Regions from separate parts of the Homo sapiens genome. Here regions 2 and 3 are each linked to region 1. The links are contacts of gene promoters, found by promoter capture Hi-C in blood cells and fetal thymus (Javierre and others, 2016). All regions are on one chromosome and are shown on one strand. The core of a region is centred on a gene start or on the middle of the fragment in contact, and the rest is flanking DNA. Distances in the headings are between cores, read along the strand shown.

What was found. The method cuts DNA at HindIII sites, captures the fragments that hold promoters and counts their contacts. A CHiCAGO score of 5 or more calls a contact.
Region 2: a contact is called between a fragment that was not itself captured here and the fragment with the promoter of CD5 in region 1, in 7 of 17 cell types (non-activated CD4 T cells, naive CD4 T cells, activated CD4 T cells and 4 more). The highest score is 31.5, in non-activated CD4 T cells.
Region 3: a contact is called between a fragment that was not itself captured here and the fragment with the promoter of CD5 in region 1, in 4 of 17 cell types (non-activated CD4 T cells, activated CD4 T cells, naive CD4 T cells and 1 more). The highest score is 6.3, in non-activated CD4 T cells.

The regions. Positions count from the first base shown.
Region 1 is chr11:61,100,455-61,104,986 of GRCh38, forward strand. CD5 (CD5 molecule) reads left to right here and starts at 2,035. Exons shown (of 11, transcript NM_014207.4): 1 at 2,035-2,161. The coding sequence starts at 2,107. The HindIII fragment of the contact is 6,487 bases long and covers 1-4,279 here.
Region 2 is chr11:60,977,062-60,981,593 of GRCh38, forward strand. All of the region lies in intron 1 of CD6 (CD6 molecule), which reads left to right. Among named protein-coding and RNA genes, the nearest start is that of CD6, 7.6 kb to the left of the region's middle. The HindIII fragment of the contact is 9,705 bases long and covers 1-4,532 here.
Region 3 is chr11:61,173,158-61,177,689 of GRCh38, forward strand. LOC124902678 (a long non-coding RNA gene) reads left to right here and starts at 1,682. Exons shown (of 4, transcript XR_007062691.1): 1 at 1,682-3,010. The HindIII fragment of the contact is 5,976 bases long and covers 1-4,532 here.

The DNA.
Region 1 (4,532 bases), core at 785-3,284:
TTACACACACACATCAACATGGAGATTACACACACAACATGGAGATCACATTCACACATATCAACATGGAGATCACATTCACACACATAAACATGGAGATCACACACACACATCAACATGGAGATCACACACACATCAACATGGAGATCACACACACAACATGGAGATCACACACACACATCAACATGGAGATTACACACACATCAACATGGAGATCACATTCACACACATCAACATGGAGATCACAAACACACATCAACATGGAGATCACACACACACATCAACATGGAGATCACATTCACACACATCAACATGGAGATCACAAACACACATCAACATGGAGATCACACACACACATCAACATGGAGATTACACACACATCAACATGGAGATCACATTCACACACATCAACATGGAGATCACACACACATCAACATGGAGATCACACACACATCAACATGGAGATCACACACACACATCAACATGGAGATTACACACACATCAACATGGAGATCACATTCACACACATCAACATGGAGATCACACACACACATCAACATGGAGATCACACACACACATCAACATGGAGATTACACACACATCAACATGGAGATCACATTCGCACACATCAACATGGAGATCACACACACACAACATGGAGATCACACACACACATCAACATGGAGATTACACACACATCAACATGGAGATCACACACTCATCCACATGGAGATCACACACACACATCAACATGGAGATCACACACACATCAACATGGAGATCACATTCACACACATCAACATGGAGATCACAAACACACATCAACATGGAGATCACACACACACATCAACATGGAGATTACACACACATCAACATGGAGATCACATTCACACACATCAACATGGAGATCACACACACACATCAACATGGAGATCACACACACACGTCAACATGGAGATCACATTCACACACATCAACATGGAGATCACATTCACACACACAAACATGGAGATCACACACACATATATCAAATGGGGATTACACACACATCAACCCCAACATGGAGATCACACACACAACACAGAGATCACACAAGTCAACATGGAGATCATACACACACATCAACATGGAAATCACAAACACACAACATGGAAATCACACACACATATCAACATGGAGATCACACACACACATCAACATGGAGATCACACACACATCAACATGGCGATCACAATCACACACATCAACATGGAGATCACACACAACACAGAAATCACACACGTCAACATGGAGATTACACACACATCAACATGGAGTTCACACACACATCAACATGGAGATCACACACACTCAACATGGAGCTCACACATACACCTCAACATGGAGATCACACAACACAGAGATGACACACACAACACAGAGATCACACAAGTCAACATGGAGATCTCTCTCTCTCTACACACACACACACACACACACACACACACACACACACACACTGGCACAAGCCCAGCATTCATGGCGCAGCCATCTCTTGTACTTGCTAGCAAAACACCACCTGTGGAAAGTCAGCTCAAACTTCCAACCTCATCCCTCACAAAGGGGGAATGGAGGGTTTGGTTTTGGCTTTCACTGGAGTCTGCAACAAGAACTGGCATCATGCTGCCCATTTCCCGCCTCTCCCCACCCAGACCCCTGCCTCAGGGACGCCTGTCCTCAGCCCAGCCCTCAGCTGCAGCCAGGCCTTCAGCCTCCGTAACCCCCGCTCAGGGTCCCCACCCCCTGCAGCCCTGTCCCTCCAGGATGCATGGCCTTGTCCTGTGTGGGGGTGGCCGAGAGCACTGCCCCAGCCCTGGGTACCTTGGGCAGGAAGCTGGCAGAGGCCAGGGCTGCCATTCAAACAGGGGCAGGTGGTTTTGCCAGGAGGAAGTTGACAGTTCAACTTCAAACATGGGTGACGCAGGCCCCACACTGCCTGCTCCCCGTCCCACCCCTCCCTGAGCACGCCACCCCGCCCTCTCCCTCTCTGAGAGCGAGATACCCGGCCAGACACCCTCACCTGCGGTGCCCAGCTGCCCAGGCTGAGGCAAGAGAAGGCCAGAAACCATGCCCATGGGGTCTCTGCAACCGCTGGCCACCTTGTACCTGCTGGGGATGCTGGGTGAGTACCCCTCCCAGGTGTCCTGCGAACACCCGGGCTCGCTCCAGTGCAAGGAAGGAGTTCCCAGTTTTACCCAAGGCTGACTCTGGGATCCACATGTCAGCCCTCTGGAGCGTTGTGGAGATTTGGGGCCACTGGGATCCCTGCCTGCCCCCACTAAGCCGCAGCTTGGCCCTCTGTCCTGCATGTCCCACCCGCCAGGAGCACAACCTTGCCTCTCTCATGCGCTGTTGAGAACCCTGCTTTACCCTTCCAGTGCAAGAGAGACTGCAGGGGGGACCCGCATTTGATGGGGCCCAGACAACTTGATTCCTAGGCTGAGTTGGATTTTAGCAGAGCATTCAGGCCTCCCTCTGCGAGGTCCCCCACTGACAGCCCAGCCTTTACTTGGTCGCCTCCAGAGACATGGAAACTCGCCGTCTCCGAGGCAGCTCTGATGATGCTCTGGACAGACAGTGGGCCGAGGCAGGGTGGAGCCGCCTCTGAGGACGATGTCTGAGCAAATGTCAAGGACTCATAGCGGAAGTCCTAGGCCCTCTCATGCCCAGTCCTGGGTCAGTCCCAGAGGGGCCCAGCCAGGCCGGCTGGGATGAGTACACGCTGGGCCTGCTCTCACTCCAGCCCTGGGTTGTAAGCCCAACCCTGTGTGACCTCGGATAGGTCCCCAAGCCTCTCCAGGCCTTGATCTCCCCATTTATGAAATGTGGGGGTTGGGGGTGTGAACTGGATGAGGCCTGACCCACTTCCTGAGGATTTAGAAGGTCTGGCAGGGTGACAGAGGTGCGTGACTCTGGGCTGGAAACAGGAGGATGCGAGCAGCTTCCAGGCTGGCAGGGAGAGGGTCCGGAGGCCTTGCCTGCCTGAGCAGGGAGCCTCAGCAGCCTTCTAGGGAAACCGGGTGTGCAGGTGTGAGTGTGGGGGAATGCATGTGTGTGTGTCTGTGTGCATGTGTGTGAGAACTGTGTGTGGGGGAATGTGTGAGTCTATGTGTGTCTGTGTGAGTCTGTGTGTACGTGTGTGAGAACTGTGTTGGGGGGTAATGTGTGACTCTGTGTGTGAGTCTGTGTGTGAGTCTCTGGGCATGTGTGTGAGTACTGTGTGTAGGGGAATGTGTGAGTCTGTGTGTGAGTCTGTGTGTGAGTCTCTGGGCATGTGTGTGAGTACTGTCTGGGGGGGAATGTGTGAGTCTGTGTGTGAGTCTCTGGGCATGTGTGTGAGTACTGTGTGGGGGGGAATGTGTGAGTCTGTGTGTGAGTCTGTGTGTGAGTCTCTGGGCATGTGTGTGAGTACTGTGTGTGGGGGGGGAATGTGTGACTCTGTGTGTGAGTCTCTGGGCATGTGTGTGAGTATTTTGTGGGGGGGAAAGTGTGAGTCTGTGCGTGTGAGTCTGTGTGTGAGTCTGTGTTCATGTGTGTGAGAACTGTGTATGGGGGAATGTGTGAGTCTGTGTGTGAGTCTGTGTGTGAGTCTCTGGGCATGTGTGTGAGTACTGTGTGGGGGGAATGTGTGAGTCTGTGTGTGAGTCTGTGTGTGAGTCTGTGTGTGGGAGTCTGTGCGCATGTGTGTGAGAACTGTGTGTGTGTGCTTTCATGAGCACAATGCGGCCTCCAAAGGCAGGATTATCTCCCCAACACATGTGACAATGGCACCTGTGCACACATGTTCACATGGTTCTTCTCACATGTAACAACAACAGGTACAAAATGCCTTCTGTCCCAAAGTAAGAGGCCTGAGACAGACCTCTGGCTGGCTTCAGGGACCCTGCTAAGGAGGGACCAGGCCCTTAAACCCCCCACCTGCTCCTCACCTCTGGCCTCAGACTTCATTGAGATAGGGCGGCTCCCAGCTGAGTATGGGAACCCGTGTCCTGCTCTAGGGCCCTCCCAACTGAATCCCATCATGGGTGAGGCTCCTGATGGCACCAGGCAAGTCCCCTGGCCCAACACAGGCCACAGTCAGGAAGACTTGGAGGTAGCCCCTTCACCCCAGTATGGGGACCTCCTTGAACCCCAGGAATACTCAGTTCCCAGTGTCTGAGTGAGCCGGTGGGTACCAAGCATTCCCTTTGTTCAGTGGGTAACGGTTTACAAAGCACTTTTAAAGCCATTTTCTGCTGCAAGCTTCACAACAGCCAATGAAGTAGGTGGGCCCATTGGCCCCATTTTACAGTGGGGAAAAGCGAGGCCCAGGAAGGCCGAGTGCAAACCCAGGGTGCAGCAGCTGGTGCACAGCCGAGCTGACCCCAGCCCAGCATTCCTGCCTTCACAGAGGCCCCTCCCTTAGCTAAAAGGGAAGGCCACCAAAGGCACTTCCGTGTGCAGGAAAATGGCCCTGGGACACAACCTCCACCAGCAGAGATACAGCCACCAGA
Region 2 (4,532 bases), core at 1,426-3,925, 120 kb before region 1:
TAGCTCCTAGGGTGCTGGAGCTCGAACTTTACAGAGGGATCTAGAATGAGTGAGAAATGCTGCCCATGGCCCTCCTCATTCAGACCACATTTATTAAGGCTTTATTTATTATATTTATAGAACACTCAAGAATTAAATTCAGTACCCAGCTGTTAGATTCTGAGTTAAGGAATCAGACTTCTCCCTGGGGCAAGGAGGAATAAACAGGTGGCCCCAACTGTCCTTTAGGACAGGAGCTTGGAGTGTAGACCTCCCAGGTGCGTGGCCATCCTCTCCCTGCCTGGACCACAGATGGGACACCATGAGCTTTAACATCCATGCCATGTGCTCAGGCCTGCCCTGAGCAGCCCCCTGGTAGGGCTGGGATCCCCAGGCTGTATCTACTTCCTCAGCTAGCAAGACCTCCAGGCCCTCCATCCTGTCCTCGGCACTGGCCCTTCTCCAGACTCAGAGCATGGTAAGTTATCCAGCATAGCTCTTCCCGGAGCACTTTATTCCAGCCCACCTTCCCAGTGTTGGCCAAGGTGTCATCCACCTGACAATTTACTTAACGTAATTTCCCTCCTTTTTCTTTCTTTCTTTTCTTTTTTTTTAGATGGAGTCTCGCTCTGTCGCCCAGGCTAGAATGCAGTGGTGCAGCTCACTGCAGCTTCAAACTCCTGGGCTCAAGGGATCCTCCCACCTCAGCCTCCCAAATAGCTGGGATTACAGGCGCCTGACACCATGCCTGGCTACTCTTTCTTAATTGATGTTTTAAAATGCAAATACATTTATTTTGAGAAGAAACTTTATATATCACTCCCTTAAATGGAAAGCCATTCATTATAAATCACCATCATGATTATAATGGTGAAAATAAACATAATGGAAATAAAACAATGTTACTAAATTCTAGCCAGATGCATTTGCTGCTTTCCCTTTCCTCAAAAGGGAGGGCTGTAGATGTCAGAGAGACTTTAAAGACTAACCCCATGGGAGATTTCCTCCTCCAAGTCTGTAATTAGAAAGGCTGAAAGGGAAATAAAGAGTATGCATAACTTCCTCATCATGTAATATAGTGGTATATAATGCCAAGTCAATGACCACCTAAATCAATTTTGCATAGTTTTGTGTATGTGCCCTAGACTTTGAAAACACTGATCCAGAGAAAGGACAAAGGGGGTGGGCATGGTGTCCCCTGACAAGACTGAGCCTGGGGACGCTGACTGCTCTGCAGCCTGGGGTTACGTCCTACACATGAGACCCCCATTTCAGGGGCTCCCCAGTACCCTGAGAAGTCCCTGGATTTTCCCAGTGAGCCCTGAGGTTGGGGGGCACCCGAGTTCACCTCCCTTGATTCCGCTCTGGGAATCTAGGCCCCTGCAGCCTGGGGAGGAGAAGGAACCTTGAGGAGGGGTGAGGTGGGTGTGGACTTTGAGAACTAGCTCTGGTCCTAACTTGCTGGGGAATCTTGGTCAAGTTCCTTCCTTTCTCTGGCCCTAGTTTCCTTTCTGGAAAACTGGGTAAATTGAACACTAAGGACCCAGCCTAAACATGCTTGTACTTTATGTATGTTCCTTGAGGCTTTACAGGTTATGGAGCAGGGCATCTGGCTGTACGCAGCAGAGACCCAGCCACTAGACACTTAGCCCTAGGAAGGGCACTGTATCAACCCCAGCCGGCATCCTGTCGTATAGAATCATGGACCCCGGAGTCAGGCAGACGCGGGTTCTGAATTGCATCTCTGCATGGCCCCAGGGTGGTTTCTTTGCCTGCATGCTAGAGATAAAAATCCCCAACTCACCAAAGTGTACAAGTTAATGTAGATGATGCATCTGAAAATAGCCGAACAAAATGCAGTGCTCAGAAATGTTAGCTTATAAATGCTCTACAGCAAGACCAAAGATAATCCCTTGCCTATGTGAATACAGGACTCGGTGGTTAACATAGTGCTGTTTGCACAATGAGCTCCATCACCCACATGGTGACCTCATTTTATAGATGAGGAAACTGAGGTTTAGCGAGGCTAAGAGACTTGTCAGGACCTGAGCTTGGGTCTCCCAGCCAGCAGGCTGGTGCTTTTTCCATTGTGTGGGAGTTGCCTGGCTTGTTTCCAGCCAGCTGTCCTGTGGGCTCTATTCTAGCATAGGGTTTCTCCCCTAAATGCAAACTCCTAGCCTTGCAGCCTCACCACTGAATCTAGGAACAGCCCTGAGGGACCTCTGAGGTCCTAGGGACCCTGGAAGTCTTCTTAGCAACAGATGGGGTCAAGTGTGGCTGCCTCCCTCATCATGGCACGCCCTCATGGGGTTTGCCTGGGGGTTGCCCTGCACCTTGGGGCCAGCAGGAAGGCAAAATTAAAGAGGCACCATGAGCCAGGGGAGAGCTTGCTGGGCAGCAGGCTCCATATTTTGTTTTGTTTTCTTTTTTTTTTTTTTCTTTTTGAGACGGAGTCTCAGTCTGTTACCCAAGCTGGAGTGCAATGCTGCGATCTCAGCTCACTGCAACCTCCGCCTCCCAGGTTCAAGCAATTCTCCTGCCTCAGCCTCCCGAGTAAGGGGACCATAGGCACCCACCACCATGCCCAGCTAATTTTTTTGTATTTTTAGTAGAGACGGGGTTTCACCATTTTGGCAAGGCTGGTCTTGAATTCCTGACCTCAGGTGATCCACCCGCCCGCCTCAGCCTCCCAAAGTGCTGGGATTACAGGTGTGAGCCACTGTGCCTGGCCTAGGCTCCATATTTTCATATTCATTCAGTACCTGCTGAGTACCAGGCCCTGTGCTGGCACTGCCATAGGACATGAAGGTTTGCCCTTGAACAGTTTATAGTGTTGTGGTAAGACACACCAGCACCACCCCGGGATAGGTGTGGCAACAGGCACAATCCAGTGACAGCTGCAACCACCACCCATTACCAGGGACTTAATATTCTCCAAGCACCAGCTATGCATATGCTGTTCCACCCTGACAACACCAGGACAATCACCCCTTTTTTATGGGTGGAGAAACTGAGGCTCAGAAAGTTATGTATTTTGTCCCAGGTTGGTGGCTAATGCTGAATTTAAATCCATGTCATGATATGTCACCACTGGGGGAAGCTGACTGATGGGTACACAGGATTTCTCTTCACTATTTTGGCAACTTCTTATGAGTCCATAGTTTGAAAATAAGAAGTTAAGGGGGAAAAAAGGATTTCAGCCCTTTCTGGTGACTCACACCTGTAATTCAGCACGTTGGGAGGCCGAAGTCCAAGAGTTCCAGAGCAGCATAGGCAACATAGTGTGACCCCCACGTTTACAAAAAATTAAAAAGTTAGCCGGATGTGAGATTCATGCCTGTAGTCCCAGCTACTCGGGAGGCTGAGGCAGAGAATGACTTGAGCCCAGGAGGTTGAGGCTGCAGTGAGCCATGATCTCACCACTGCACTCCAGCCTGGACAACGGAGCAAGACCTTGTCTCAAAAAAGAAAAAAAAAAGTATTTCAGAAAGAAGGACCCATTTGAAGGCCGGGTGCAGTGGCTCACGCCTGTAATCCCAACACTTTGGGAGGTCAAGTAGGGCGGATCACTTGAGGTCAGGAGTCCGAGACCAGCCTGGCCAATATGGCGAAACCCCGTCCCTAGTAAAGAAATACAAAAATTAGCCGGGTGTGGTTCGGGGGATGGGGGGCACCTGTAATCCCAGCTACCCGCAAGGCTGAGGGAAGAGAATCGCTTGAAACCGGGAGGCGGAAGTTACAGTGACCCAAGATCGCACCACTGCACTTCAGCCTATGCAACAGAGTGAGACTCTGTTTCAAAATAATTAATTAATTAATTAAATTGAAAGAAAGACCCATTTGAGCAGAAACCTGGAGGTGGGACAGCCTACGAGGGCCCGGCTGAGGGGAGGTGCTGACCAGCCAGTCCGGCTGGTCCTGTTGGGTCATGTTGGGTAGGCAGGACTGAAATTCCCAAAGGAGCTGAGGTCCAGGCTCTTTTCTGCCTCCTGACCCAGACTGGTGTGCCATGAGGATTCAATGAGCGCCAAGCACAGGGACTGGCCCACGGAAGGTGCGCCACAAAATGTACATTTACAAGTGTTAGGCAGGCAGTACAAGGATCACGTCCTCCAGTGCAGCACTCTGCAAATACGTAAACCTGCCTTCTCCTCGTCACAGCCCTAAGGAGGTATGCGCTACTATTTAATACTTCCATTTTACTGAGTAAGTGACAGGCTCAGAGAGATAAAGTGACTTTTCCTAGATCGCACCACTAATAGATGACAGATACTTGGTTTTACCTCATGACTCCAAATCCGTTGCTTTTTCCCAGCCCTGGAATTGGGTAGGGTTTGGGCCGGGGACCCCTCCCCACTCAAGACTCCTGCAGGAAAGGTCCGCCCTTCCCCCAGGGACTTTTCACCTCACCCACCATCAGCTGGGCCGTCATGGAACTTTATGGAGCCTGAGCTCTCCTCCTTCAGGCTGAGTGGCCATGCCCAGCCTTCGTTTCCCCGGCTGTAAAGCAGGGCCAACGGGAGCTCAGAGCTGTGTGGGGCTCCCCAGATGTT
Region 3 (4,532 bases), core at 796-3,295, 73 kb after region 1:
CTGACTAATATCATGCATCAACTGGGCCCATGACCCTTACCATCTAACCTTACCAGGTGACTTACAATCCTTTAGGTCTATTATCATGCCAGTGCTGCCCTCTTTGGTGTTCCCTCCTCCCCATGCCCATTTGGCAAAGTTCTCTCATCCACTGAGACTCGGCTCAGTTGCCACCTCCACTAGGGAGACTTCCTAACTTTCCACCTAAGGCAGCATTGGGCATCCTCTTTGCAGGATGCCCAGGGCATGCCTCTATTGCAGTGCTGCCACATTACCTTTCTAAATGTTTTGTTTCCTGGACTTCAGGGCCACTGCTAGCCCATTTGGAGCCTTCGTTAGATTCAGAAAAAGCTGGCCTCCTCCAGGTGGCTGCAGCTGCCCAGGTGCATGGCTCAGCAGTGAATCATGACCTGACTTCAGGTCTTCTTCCCCCATGGCCTGACACCTGTGTTCTGGGCACAAATTGTACAATGTCCTCCATGGCCCTGTCTGCAAGGCTATTCATAAACAGCGAGCAATTTATGAACTTGGCTTCGAGCACCCTCAAGTGTTCACTGAAAGAATGAATATTTCCTAATAGATGAGACCTGTCCTCAATTATCCCTTCCTCCTCCCACCCGTCCTCTCCTCCTTTTGTTCTGCCTCATTTCCTGACCTCCCAAGCCCAGTACTAATGAGCTGCAGAGTGGCCAAGAGCCTAGAATTTGTAGTCAGACAGACCTAGTTCAAATCTTGACTCTACCACTTACTTGCCATAAATCCTTGAGGAAGTTACTTAGCTCCTCTAAGCCTCAGTTTCCTCATCTATAAATTGGAGACATTATCAGCTTCACAGGGCGCCCACAAAGAGCACATGGGAAAAGGCGTTCAATAGGTGTCTCCAGGGCTCCTCCAAGTCAGGCTCTACAGCTGGGAGACCAGAGTGGCCATGGAAGGCATCACTGAGGAGGGAACATTGAGATGATGGCTGAATAGCCATCCACGCAGAAAGCTGGGAGAAGAACCTTCTGGACAGGGAGAACAGGAATTGCAAAGGCCCAAGGTAACCAAGTTCAATAAAAGGCTACTTTTCCATCTCCAGTCTTCCGTCCACACCTGAACACACCATCGTCAACCAGGCCATCGAGGCCACAAGTTACACACCATGACCTCATCACACACTTGATTTGTTGACTCGGAGCAAGTTACCAGCAATGAATTATCAACCCCTTTCCCAGAATGGCAAGCCCTGGGGCTATGTGCAAACTGAGGCGGGAAAATAAGAGGTGTCAATAGAGCTGAGTTTGCTCTGGGCCCAGGGCCATGTAGATAAGCTGGTTATCATCACCAGCTCCAGCTCCAAGAGGCACAGTGGGTGCCACTGCCACCACCAGGAACCCTGGGGTTTGCTTGTCCTCCTGCTGGAACGCCCAGCACACCCACAGGGCCAAGAGGAAAGTAAACGCTCTTGACTAATCTCCCCCAGTGCTATCACAGGGGCCCCCCGAAGGTGGCTGCTCCTTTGGCAGAGTCTGGTTCTTCCATTCCTTCTTGGAAGATGGCCATGGGGCATCAGCACCTGACCATGATGTCTGGTGGCTAGAATTCAACTTGAAATCAGTTGAGACCCAAGTAATGCCCAGGCTTTCCCGGTGGGTTTTCCTTGCTCCATTCTTTGTCTCCATACAGTGAAGCCCCCAGAAAGCATCAGTTGTTCATCCCTCATCAGGGCCTTCAAAGTTCCAAGGTCTTTCTTGAGCCTCAGAGAGGCAACAAGTCCTTGAATGCACCCTTGTCTGACCCTCCCAACTCAGCCAAGAATCCCCTAAAGATGAAATAGAACATTGGGTTTCAATTGTCGAAGTCTGACCAGAAGATGTTCCTTACTCTAAATACAGGCCAGTGTCACACCAACTTACAAGGGTCAGTGTGTTATGAACAAGGAGGGGAAGCTGTGGGGCTGCCAAGCTGGGCACAAGTCAAGCACTAACCGGCACCACTGCCTCCTGCTTCCTGGTGCCACTCCAGCCGGGGCTGCCCCCACTGTGTCTGGCAGCTTCCAATATTGCTTTCCTGCTGCCATAAGATGGCAGGTCTGGCAACAGAACTGGAGCCGGACTTAAGGAGAAAGAGGAAGGAACTTCAGCTCTGGCACCTGCAGACCCCCGAAAGTGACCTACGGAAGCTGGCAGCAGGGACTGCAATTGAGCATTCTCTCACCTTTCCCTTCTCAGAGCTCCCCAAGCCTATGCCCAGGTGGGAAGAGGATTACCTGAGAGCCAGAAGCCCCGGGTCCCAGCACTTCACTAACCTACCTTGCATCCCTTCTGTAAATTATACACCCCAGCTCTCAGTTTCCCCATCTCCGGGATAACAGACTGGACTTGTCCAAGAATAGCAATCATTCCCAATCCAGTGCCGACGCTGGTTGCTAGAACACGTGGCTGAAGGGATTGTATGTTGCTCGGGATTCTGGGGCCACATCCAGTGGTAGGGGGTGCTGTGGTTCGCTGGCAATATCTGCCTTGGACTCAGAATGGAGCATGGTAGACCAGGTGCCACGTCACTGACATGCAGGAGCTAAAGGACCTTTGCACTCCTGCCCAATGGAACATTCCAGCACTTGGATTCTGTGGGATGAGATCTGACAGCCATAAGGCAGAAGTTACCAACTGGGAAGCTCATGGATTCTTCAACAGAAACTCGAGTCAGGCTGATGAATTACCTTTACTAAAGGAATGAATAACAATAAAAAAAATTCTAGGTCCAAGACGTGCCAAGAAAGGTTAGATATATTGGACAATATTTTAAAAGGAGAGATGTTTTGGGTGACCTGCTATTTTGCTGTCCAGCTTGAGATGATGCCAATGGCCACAGAGTAATAAAAGGGCCACTGAATATGGCCTCGTTCCCATGGCTCACCAGCAGTAAGCATCTCTACCACCTCCATGTCTGGAGCAGGAATTCCAGCAGGAAGGACGCAGCCTCCAGAACCATTTGACCAGAAGATCCAAGTGCGACTGGACTGCTGGTAGGTACCACAGAAATCCTAGCTCTCTCCTCCCCACAGCTGGCTGTTCTCTGTTTAAACTTGACTCACTGCATATGTCCCGCTGCCACAGGAGGCCCTTTTCCAATATCTTGTTCCGCTCTGCAGACCCTCTGTTCACGCCCCTGGGCTTCTCTCCCATCCCAGTCTGTCTTGCATCCTGTGCAAGCTGCCCTCCTCTCTGTTATTTAGTTATGAATCCCTCCTCCCTTCCCTTCAAAACACCTCCACTGCTTCAGTCTTTGGCTCCCTCCCTATCCGGGCCCCTGCCCCTTCCCTACAGATGATACTAAAGCAGACAAAGCCAGGGAGGGAGACCCCCATTTTGTTGTTTCTAAAAATGTTCTCATCCTTTCCACTTCCAGGCCCTGATACGGCTCCTCAAAGTCTCAAGCTGATGATCAGACAACCTCGAGGGGTAGTGGTGGGAGACAGCAGGACGAGGGCCGGAGCCGTGGGCAGGGGAGGCTCAGGAGCAACTCAGCCAGTGTGGGGCCCACCCAGGTCGGCCTTGCTTGGGACCCTTGGGATACCACTAAAGACAGAAACTTCAAAATGGAAATGTTTTCAACTTATTACAAAAAAGGTTCAAACATAAAAGTAAAAATGAATAGTGTCATGGACCTCATATTCCATCACTCAGCATCAAGAATTACACTGTTTCTGCAAATCCTTGTTTTATATACACACTCCCCCCTTTTTTTTTTCTTTGTCTCACTTTGTTGCCCAGGCTGGAGTGGACTGGCGTGATCCCGGCTCACTGCAGCCTCCGCCTCCCAGGTTCAAGCGATTCTCATGCCTCAGCCTCCTGAGTAGCTGGGATTACAGGCATGCATCAACACACCCAGATAATTTTTGTATTTTTCGTAGAGACAGAGTTTCACCATGTTGGCCAGGCTGGTCTCAAACTCCTGGCCTCAAGCAATCTACCTGCCTCAGCCTCCCAAAGTGCTGGGATTATAGGCATGAGCTACCGCACCTGGCGACACTCTTACTTTTTAAAAATTTTATTCTTTATATATTTATATTTGCTGTAATATTTTAAGGCATACAGCTTACCATTTCACTGTAAATACTTTATTGTACATTTCTAGGAGATAAGGGTCATATTATATATATATATATATATACACAGCTGTAATTAATATATATATTCAAATATATATATTTATAGCGGCAATGCTCTCTTATTCCAAACAAAACTACCAACTTTTCTTTTAATTACCAATTTTAATATCACCTAATAACCAGTCCATGTTCAAATTTATTTGATTCTCTCAAAAATGCCTTTTAACAGTTGATATATTCAGATCCAGGATCAAGATCTTGAGGTTATCCGCATGTGTTGCATTTGGTGGCTGTTTCTTAAGACTTTTAATGGGCTGGGCGCGGTGGCTTACACCTGTAATCCAAGCACTTTGGGAGGCTGAGGCGGGCAGACCACAAGGTCAGGAGTTTGAGACCAGCCTGGCCAACATGGTAAAACCCATCTCTACTGAAAATA